Linked DNA regions of Homo sapiens: regions 1 and 3 are each linked to region 2. Evidence: promoter capture Hi-C in 16 types of primary human blood cells and fetal thymus (Javierre and others, 2016). All regions are on one chromosome and are shown on one strand. The core of a region is centred on a gene start or on the middle of the fragment in contact, and the rest is flanking DNA. Distances in the headings are between cores, read along the strand shown.

What was found. Contacts are between HindIII fragments. The CHiCAGO score rates a contact against its expected background, and 5 or more counts as called.
Region 1: a contact is called between a fragment that was not itself captured here and the fragment with the promoter of THOC2 in region 2, in 2 of 17 cell types (M1 macrophages and M0 macrophages). The highest score is 5.6, in M1 macrophages.
Region 3: a fragment that was not itself captured here is called in contact with the fragment with the promoter of THOC2 in region 2 in 1 of 17 cell types (M0 macrophages); the score reaches 5.9 in M0 macrophages.

What each region holds. Positions count from the first base shown.
Region 1 is chrX:123,695,017-123,698,322 of GRCh38, reverse strand. THOC2 (THO complex subunit 2) reads left to right here. Exons shown (of 39, transcript NM_001081550.2): 5 at 572-642; 6 at 1,481-1,602; 7 at 2,169-2,302. Among named protein-coding and RNA genes, the nearest start is that of THOC2, 36 kb to the left of the region's middle. The HindIII fragment of the contact is 710 bases long and covers 1,409-2,118 here.
Region 2 is chrX:123,731,454-123,734,486 of GRCh38, reverse strand. It overlaps THOC2 (THO complex subunit 2), which reads left to right and starts at 1,435. Exons shown (of 39, transcript NM_001081550.2): 1 at 1,435-1,535. The coding sequence starts at 1,465. RefSeq lists an enhancer at 1,420-1,499. The HindIII fragment of the contact is 10,140 bases long and covers 1-2,307 here.
Region 3 is chrX:123,768,241-123,771,431 of GRCh38, reverse strand. No RefSeq gene overlaps it. Among named protein-coding and RNA genes, the nearest start is that of THOC2, 37 kb to the right of the region's middle. The HindIII fragment of the contact is 1,749 bases long and covers 825-2,573 here.

The DNA.
Region 1 (3,306 bases), core at 514-3,013, 36 kb after region 2:
CCACCCCAGGCTAATTTTTGCATTTTTAGTAGAGACAGGGTTTCACCATGTTGGTCAGGCTGGTCTTGAACTCCTGACCTCATGATCCGCCCGCCTTGGCCTCCCAAAGTGCTGGGATTGCAGGCGTGAGCCACTGCGCCCAGCCTGAGTATTAGGCTCTTTAGAGTTAGAAGAAATCTTTGTTATAACCCTGTTCAACTTTCCACCTAAAATAATCTTTTTTTTTTTTTTTTAGCATCTCTGACAAGTGGTCATTTAAACTTTGTTTGAATGTTTCATTTTTTGCGAACAATAGTTTTTGAAGCTTTGTTGCTTCCAGTGCCATAGCAGGTAGCTCCAGTGTAGTTGATGTACTGTTTTATGGATCTGTCATAGGTCACAGGGTCAATCTCCAGTTTTAGGAGAAATTAAAGCATTCATATAACATCTCATGTTACCATAGTTTTGAATTTTTCCAAATTCAGATTGAGGCATTTTAAAATTAGTTAGTTTCAAATAAAATAAGTATCTTACTTTAGTGCTGGGGAGTCTAGACAAATCAATCAAACTTTTTTCTTCTTCATCATTATAGACATTGAGACAAATTGTTTAGAAGAAAAAAGCAAGAGAGACTATTTTACACAGTTGGTATTAGCATGTTTGGTAAGTTTTTAAAAATATTTTTCCCTTTTAAAAATCTGCATTAAACAGTTGTAATAGAAGTTAATCATGTTAATGAAGGAGGATATTGACATTCAGTTGACTTTTCTCATAAGGTGAGATTTGGGTTTTGAAATGGAATGTTTTGTGAAATAAGACATGCTGTTTCTGTGAAATAAGCATGTAACCATATCCATATCACTTAAACTATCTATACATTTAAAACCTTTGGTGATATTCCTGACCTAGTAAGTTCCTAAGAAAAAGGTAAGCATTTATAAAGTAAGTAGAAATGATTGTAGACAGCTTTTAAATGGATTTTTTTCCTCATAAACTGTTAAGCAAAGAGTAAAAGAATAGAGGTAGTTTAAAAATGATAAATTCTAGAACTTGCCATGATTGTTGTCTGGTAAACCATTTGTGTTCATAAATTTAGAACCAGGGAGAACTGCCGTGGTTGAGACCTGGAAGAAGGTGCTTGTCTTTGCTATACTAGAATTTAACTTAAAGTAGGAGGCTATTAAGTGCTGTATTAGGTGAAAGTCCAGATAAGCCAAATGCAGTCATATTGAAAATTTCATCTGTAGTTCTTGTCATTTATAGGCAGTATACAACATGCATATAATTTTATAGTGAATTTTTTGAAAGCCGTTTATTAAATATTTCAATATTTGGAGTCAATATTTGTTAAATTGAACTTCTAAGCCTTTTTATAAATTGTAGGTTGTTATGTAGAGAATGTTATTTTTGTATTCTTATTTAGGAAGCTTTAGTTTGAATATATTTAACATTGTGGATGCAATGCTAAGGAATAAATGACCTTTAATATTTTTTAATACAGTATTTAGTTTCAGACACAGTTCTAAAGGAACGCCTGGATCCAGAAACACTGGAATCATTAGGGCTTATCAAACAATCACAGCAATTCAATCAAAAGTCAGTTAAAATCAAGACAAAACTCTTGTAAGTACACGTATCTTATGTTGCAGATCAAGTATCTGAGTATGTTTTTTCGTTCATATTTTGAATCCTAGTAGCTTCTAAGGGGACTTTGAAGATTGTTTTTTTTGTTTGTGGTTAGCATGTCTTGTGTTTTTTGCCTTCTAAAAGTAGCCTAATATTGAGTCATCAGTGATCTTTACCTGTGCAAAACCATTGTTACTTTTGCCCATATTCAAAGTTAAAATAATACTCATGCTTTCATCATTAGCAATAAAATAATTTATGACTGTGGCTATACTCAGGGTATATTCTTAGAGATGGAAATGGTGATATGTTATTGTTCCCTGATATTAACAATATCCTTTTCTTGTGTTACTGGTTTTCCCTATGTAATTAATATTGGGGTTCTCATATGAATCACTGTTATTTTCTACTCTAAAAGGTACACAAAGAGGTAAACTTTCAACAACTATTCTTAGGATTGTTGTAGGTTGGAGATAAGAAAATTCAGTGAGAATACAGTACTCTGTGCAAGCTTGTTAATTAAAATTAATTTTATCCCCTTAATGATATTTATCTGATTTCAGTTATAAGCAGCAAAAATTCAATTTGTTAAGAGAAGAGAATGAAGGTTATGCCAAGCTGATTGCTGAATTGGGGCAAGATTTATCTGGAAGTATTACTAGTGATTTAATCTTAGAAAATATCAAATCTTTAATAGGTAAGACATTTATCTGTATAGTATGTGTTGTTAAGATAACAAGTTATTTTAGCTATTGGAGAATATCCATAAAGACAAAATGAGTGCATTCCATCTATTTTTTTTTTCAGTTAAGGAATGGGAGAGGTGTTTAGCTTTTACTTTTAATGGTTTATCAATAATTATAAAATTTAGCATGATATTTGTGAGAAATCTTATTGTCACTATACCTTGTATGTTAATATTAGGTCCTGCTCTGTCTAGTCTTTCTTTTTTGTGGAGGGGATCCTGAGTGGTAAGCCAACACTTTCAAAAGAGAATGGATGACAAAGAACAGGATGGACTGTTCTGATAGAGTGCCCTACGTTTCTCTAGTATTTCTATTTTTAAGTATTTCTCAACCATTTTATGGAGGACCAAAAAGCAAACATGAAAACTTTAATACAGTAAATCTTCAGTGAACTTTTGAAACTACAGATGTGTAATTTTGAACTTGATTTTCAAAATAACTTTACAAGGGACTTTGATACTTATTTTATCTTTATAGTAGCCTTTTAAAGTAAGTGCAACAGCTGTTGTAAAAGTGTAACAGATAGGAAAGTTATTATTCTCCCTACCCTTTAAGTAGAATTCCTGTAGCATTACTGTTTTCTTTTTATTTGCATTGAGCATTTGGAAGAAGTAGTTGACTTCTGTAAAAAAGATGAATGAGCACTAGAAAAATAGGGTAATCCAGATTTTCCTGAGGTGGAAAGAGTTTTTTTATTATTTACTAGGTGTTGTGCTATCTTAGGGAAGATTTTGCAGTACCTGGGTCTTGAGACCTGCCAGAGGAGTCATATTTTGTGCCTCACTAGTTGTATCTTAGGGGTGCTTATCCTCAGCTTCTTGGTTCTTTCTCTTTTTTTGGAGTTTATATATGACTAAGAAAGAGGGAGAAGGTGTCCCAATCCTTATCTCCTTCCTCTAGTGCTTTGTGTAGGAATCCAATTAAAACTATATTTACTATAATCACCTTTGTTCTT
Region 2 (3,033 bases), core at 186-2,685:
GGGTACACCTCCCAGACCGGGTGGTGGCCGGGCAGAGGGGCTCCTCACTTCCCAGTAGCGGCGGCCGGGCAGAGGCGCCCGTCACCTCCCGGACGGGGCGGCCGGCCGGGCGGGGGGCCGACCCCCCCACCTCCCTCCCGGACGGGGCGGCCGGCCGGGCGGAGACGCTCTTCACCTCTCAGACGGGGCGGCTGCCGGGCGGAGGGTCTCCTCACTTCTCAGACGGGGCGGCCGGGCAGAGACGCTCTTCACCTCCCAGACGGGGTCGCGGCCGGGCAGAGGCGCTCCTCACATCCCAGACGGGGCGGCGGGGCAGAGGCACTCCCCACATCTCAGACGATGGGCGGCCAGGCAGAGACGCTCCTCACTTCATCCCAGACGATGGGCAGCCGGGCAGAGACGCTCCTCACTTCCTAGACAGGATGGCGGCCGGGCAGAGACGCTCCTCACTTTCCAGACTGGGCAGCCAGGCAGAGGGGCTCCTCACATCCCAGACGATGGGCGGCCAGGCAGAGAGGCTCCTCACTTCCCAGACGGGGTGGCGGCCGGGCAAAGGCTGCAATCTCGGCACTTTGGGAGGCCAAGGCAGGCGGCTGGGAGGTGGAGGTTGCAGCGAGCCGAGATCACGCCACTGCACCCCAGCCTGGGCACCATTGAGCACTGAGTGAACGAGACTCCGTCTGCAATCCCGGCACCTCGGGAGGCCGAGGCTGGCGGATCACTCGCGGTTAGGAGCTGGAGACCAGCCCGGCCAACACAGCGAAACCCCGTCTCCACCAAAAAAATACGAAAAACAGTCAGGCGTGGCGGCGCGCACCTGCAATCGCAGGCACTCGGCAGGCTGAGGCAGGAGAATCAGGCAGGGAGGTTGCAGTGAGCCGAGATGGCAGTACAGTCCAGCTTTGGCTCGGCATCAGAGGGAGACTGTGGAAAGAGAGGGAGAGGGAGACCGTGGGGAGAGGGAGACGGGAGAGGGAGACGGGAGAGGGAGAGGGAGAAGGAGAGGGACCCGATTATTTTCTTTTATCTCAGCAGTCAGCAGGGCGTAATGTAATTTATTTGCTTATATTTATGGCTTTCCCAAAGACTATTATTTCTCTATTCCCAGTGTCTAGCACATATTAGGTGCTTGAAAAATGCGTGTTTGTATTAGTGGTTAGGGGTAGATATTACGGAAGAAGATGAAGTCTACTTGTTGGCCTGTGGATGGCATTTCTCTGTTCTAATGGGAAGTAAGGCCGAAGACTTCGGAGGGCGCAACCCGTGTAGTAACCTCGCAAAGGGGCCCGCGAGTCTCCACGTCGTTGGCTGCCTTGCCTCGGGTTTCCGCTGGGTGGAGAGGAAAGTGGGGCGGGAAATCGAAAAACGAACTCTCAGCTCCCGGCATTCCTCGTGGGCGGTGCTCCCCTTTGACCCTTCGCTCGCGTGCTACACATCCGGGCTTCTGCTACTAGTGAGAGGAAGATGGCGGCCGCGGCTGTGGTGGTTCCCGCAGAGTGGATAAAGAACTGGGAGAAATCAGGGAGAGGCGAATTGTGAGTGTTCGGGCCGGAGGCAGGCGCACTGCCGGGCCGGGCCAGGGCGTCAGCTGCACTCTCACCTGTAGTGGGAGGTTGAGGGGGAAAGATGTACCCCCTCCCCCACCCGGGCGGCGGGCGTGGATGGTCGTCTAGGAGTTTCGAACTCGGGGAGAGGTGCTGTTTACCGCCGCGGACCTCCTTCCTTCCCTGGCCTCCCAGAAATCGCTACTGCCTGCGGTAGCTCGGCTTCCTTTAGCCTCTTAGTAGAACTCTTATTCCGCCCCTGCAGGTCTCCGCGCTCCCTCTTGGTCTCTTTTTGTGTCCCCCTCTTCGCTTGATCTCACTTGGCTCCTTTATCTTTATGGGGCTGAGCCGGGGCAATTCGGACTTTCCATCTCTCTCTGTGCCATTTCTTCACTCTGCACCCGTTGGACTCCGCAGTTTGGAGCTTGGCGCCTCCTCTGCCTGAAGTCCAAGGAGGGCGAACCGTCCCGGATTCCCCTCCCCTCCTCTTCGCCCGCTGCCGCGAAGCCCGGGGCGCCGCGAAGAACCCGGTTTGGCACCTCTCGCCCTCCCGGGGAGCGGTCTCTCGACTGTCCCGGCCTCGCGTAGCGCCGTGGGGAAGTGTGGCAGGGATTGCCGCTTTCCCTGAAGAACCACCGACATTTCTTTGCTCCGTCTTTTCACCTTAGAGCTATTTCGGGTTGGATTCAACTTTCGTCATTAAATGTTCCCTAAACCCCATTTTATCCTGGGACTGCAACTAATTCTGGCAGCTCTCCAAGCTTCTCCAGTACCTAGGATAACGCGTTTCCTTTAGTCGTGAAACTTTCCCCCGTAACACCGAAAACAGTAATTTGCCATACCCCTAGTCTTCTCGCCCCCACGTTAGAGCGCTCCCTCCTCCCCTTCCCCTGGAAGGAGTCGTTTAAGCAGCAAAGCAAACCTCAGATATAAGAACAAATATTAATAACATCTCATTTCCTTCTCTGGGTCGCTTTTAGATGCTAAAGCTCAACCCTGGATGAAATTAACCCTCGTTAGCCATTTTTGTCGTCCTTGCCCACCCCTCTCCATTTCTAGTAGCCAGTTTACCGTGGCTCATGCTAAAGATTCAAATCTTTGTAACTTCGTTACTTGGAACGAAACACGAGGAACGCGTTGCCGGATCCCGCGCTTGTAATAGTGCCAGCCTATGTGGCTTCCTCCCCCGCACCCCCCGCACTGCTGTATGAAGTCTTAACAGTGTGAGCTCTAGAATTCCCTAAATAAGCGGCTGTCTTAGCCACTTAAGTAGCTGAGTGACCTTGGGTAAGTTCCTTAACCACTTGGACTGTTTCCCCTTGAGTAAATTGGGAATAATAAGTACTCTACTCAAAGGATTGTTGTGAAGACTAAATAATGCCTGTAAAGCACTTGGCTTATAGTAAGTGCTCAAGTGATAGCTATTAAAAGTAATATTATTCCAACCTTTAGATATTTAAACTTCTCAGGACAGCTCATGCACTTAAAG
Region 3 (3,191 bases), core at 450-2,949, 37 kb before region 2:
AGAGCACAAAAAAGACAATCTAGAACTAGAAAACATGATTTTAGAATTAAAAAAAAAATTAGTGCACAAACTGGAAAAGAGGATGATCCTTAACTGAGAACCAAATTAGCAATCTGGAAGATCAAGCGGAAGAAATAGCTTTCAACAGAGAACAAAAATGTAAAGAAATAGAAATCATTGAGGATTAAGAAACTCAGGAGATCTGTTGTGAAAATGACAGGAGTCCAGAAGGATAAAGTGAATATAAGAAAGCGAAAACCTAACTAGATAAATAATAGAAGAAAATTTCCGGGCTGGGCGCGATGGCTCACGCCTGTAATCCCAGCACTTTGGGAGGCCGAGGCGGGTGGATCACCTGAGGTCAGGAGTTCGAGACCAGCCTGGCCAAGACGGTGAAACCCCGTCTCTACTAAAAATACAAAAATTAGCCGGGCGCGGTGGTGGGCGCCTGTAATCCCAGCTACTTGGGAGGCTGAGGCAGGAGAATCACTTGAACCTGGGAGGCGGAGGTTGCAGTGAGCTGACATCACGCCACTGCACTCTAGCCTGGGTGACAGAGCAAGACTCCGTCTCAAAAAAAAAAGAAAATTTCCCTGAGTTGAAGAAAGATTTGGGTTCGCAGATTAAAAGTGTTCACTGAGTCTTATGAATGATAATGAAAAGAGACACACATCAAAATTTATCCTTGTGAAATCCTTGAATTCCAAGTATAAAGAGAAAACCTTGTAAGTTTCCAAACAGAAAGAACACATTCTAGCTTCCAGCTAGCTTTGGCCACTGGGAGGCACTGGTAAAAGGCTGAAGACTGGGAACAGGGAGAAGCTTGGACATTTCTGTAGAACTTCCTCTCTGTCTTGGGTAATATGTCTGGTACTGGTTGCAGCTCCTCTATAACCCCAGATCCTGCCAGACAGGCTTGCGCTGGATAACCCAGATTCTTGGGCTCTGGTAACACCACTTTATTTATTTATTTATTTATTTATTTATTTATTTATTTATTTCTCTCTCTCTCTTTCTCTCTTTCTTCTTTTCTTCTTCTTCTTTTTTTTTTTTTTTTTGACAGAGTCTCGCTCCCAGGCTGGAGTGCAGTGGCGCCATCTCGGCTCACTGCAAGCTCCGCCTCCCAGGTTCACGCCATTCTCCTGCCTCAGCCTCCTGAGTAGCTGGAACTACAGGCACCTGCCACCACGCCTGGCTAAGTTTTTGTAATTTTAGTAGAGACAGGGTTTCACCGTGTTAGCCAGGATGGTCTCGATCTCCTGACCTCGTGATCCGCCCGCCTCGGTCTCCCAAAGTGCTGGGATTACAGGCGTGAGCCACCGAGCCCAGTCTTGTCTTGTCTTTGTTCTTTCTTTCTCTTTCTTTCTTTCTTTTTCTTTCTTTCTTTTCTTTCTTTCCTTTCCTTCCTTCCTTTCTTCCTTCCTTCCTTCCTTCCTTCCTTCCTTCCTTCCTTCCTTCCTTCCTTCCTTCTCTCTCTCTCTTTCTTACTTTTTTTCAGGGTCTCACTCTGTCACCCAGGCTGGAGTGCTGTGGCATGATCACAGGTCACTGCAGCCTCAACATGTCCAGGCTCAGGTGATCCTCCTGCCTCATCCTCCCAAGTAGCTGGAACTACAGGTGTGCACCACCATGCCTGGCTAGTTTTTTTGTGTTTTAAAAATCTACAACACAGAAAGGTAGAAAACAGTGGAATACCATCTGCAGAAAATTGGGAGAAAAGAACTCCTAACTAAAAATCCTGTACCAGGCCAGGCGAGGTAGCTCACGCCTATAATTCTCAGCACTTTGGGAGGACGAGGTGGGTGGATTACCTGAGGTCAGGAGTTTGAGACCAGCCTGGCCAACATGGTGAAACCCCGTCTCTACTAAAAATACAAAAATTAGCTGGGCATGGTGGCGCACACCTGTAATCCCAGCTACTCAGGAGGCTGAGGCAGGAGAATCGCTTGAACCCGGGAAGCAGAGGTTGCAGTGAGCTGAGATTGTGCCATTGAACTCCAGCCTGGGTGACAAGAGTGAAACTCCATCTCAAAAAAAAAAAAAAAAAATCCTGCACCAAGCTGTAGTAGGCTGCTTCTAAAATGGCTCCCAATGATCCTCACCTCTTCAATATTCACCCTCTTGTAAATCCCTCCTCTTGTGTTGGACCCAGCGACTTGCTTGTAACAAATGAGCCATGGCAAAAATGATGAGATGTCACTTTCATAGTTAGGTTACAAAAGACTGTAGCTTCTGTGTCTTGCTCATATTCTGTCTCTGGCTCTTCCTAAGTGATTACGCTGATGCAGAGGGCCCCCTGGCAAGGAACTGGGGCCTTTAGTCCAACAGCCAGCAAGGAGCTGAATCCTTCCAGCAATGATTTGAGTGATCTTGGAAGTGCATCCTGTCACAGTGAGCCTTGAGATAAGACTGCAGCCCCAGCTGACACCTTGATTGCAGCCTGTGAAAGACCCTAAATGGACACCTTGATTGCAATCTTATAGAGAATCTGAAGCAGAAGACCCAGTTAGGTCAGGACTCTAGGCTTCACAGAAACTGTGAGGTTATAAATGTGTTGCTTAAGCCATCAAGCTTTATTAAAAAAAAAAGTGGAATTCAAGATCAAATGCATTAAGACGAAAAGGGGGCATAAATGGTTCAATCCTTGTTGAAGTGATGAATCACAAACTTTTATGTACTGAAGTATCACAGCTTAATATTTACAGCAAACTCTCAGAAACCCAAGAAGATTTTGATAGAAAACCACCACCATAATGGGAGATTATAATATATCTCCTTCAGAACTTGAATGATCAAGTAGATGAAAAATAAGCTAGAAAATAGATGACTGAATAATGTGACAAACAAGTTCAACATATAATCATATATATGTATATTTCCACACGCATTTTAAAATGTAAACTATTTTGTTTTCCAGGTCTTGGGAACTCGGAAAAAAAATTTTTAATGTAAATTATGTTCTAATGTCTATCAACTGTGTGCTTCTTCACAGAGGAAAACTTCATGAATTTAAAGAAGCAGAGATTTGTAGAGGCAACACATTCTCATTATAATCCAGTAAAATTTAAAATAAATAATTGAAGATGGTCAAAATATCTTTACTACTTAAAAACTGAGGAACAGTCTCCTAGATACCCCTAGATCACGGCTGGGTGCAATGGCTTGTGCCTGTACTCTCAGTGCTTTGGGAA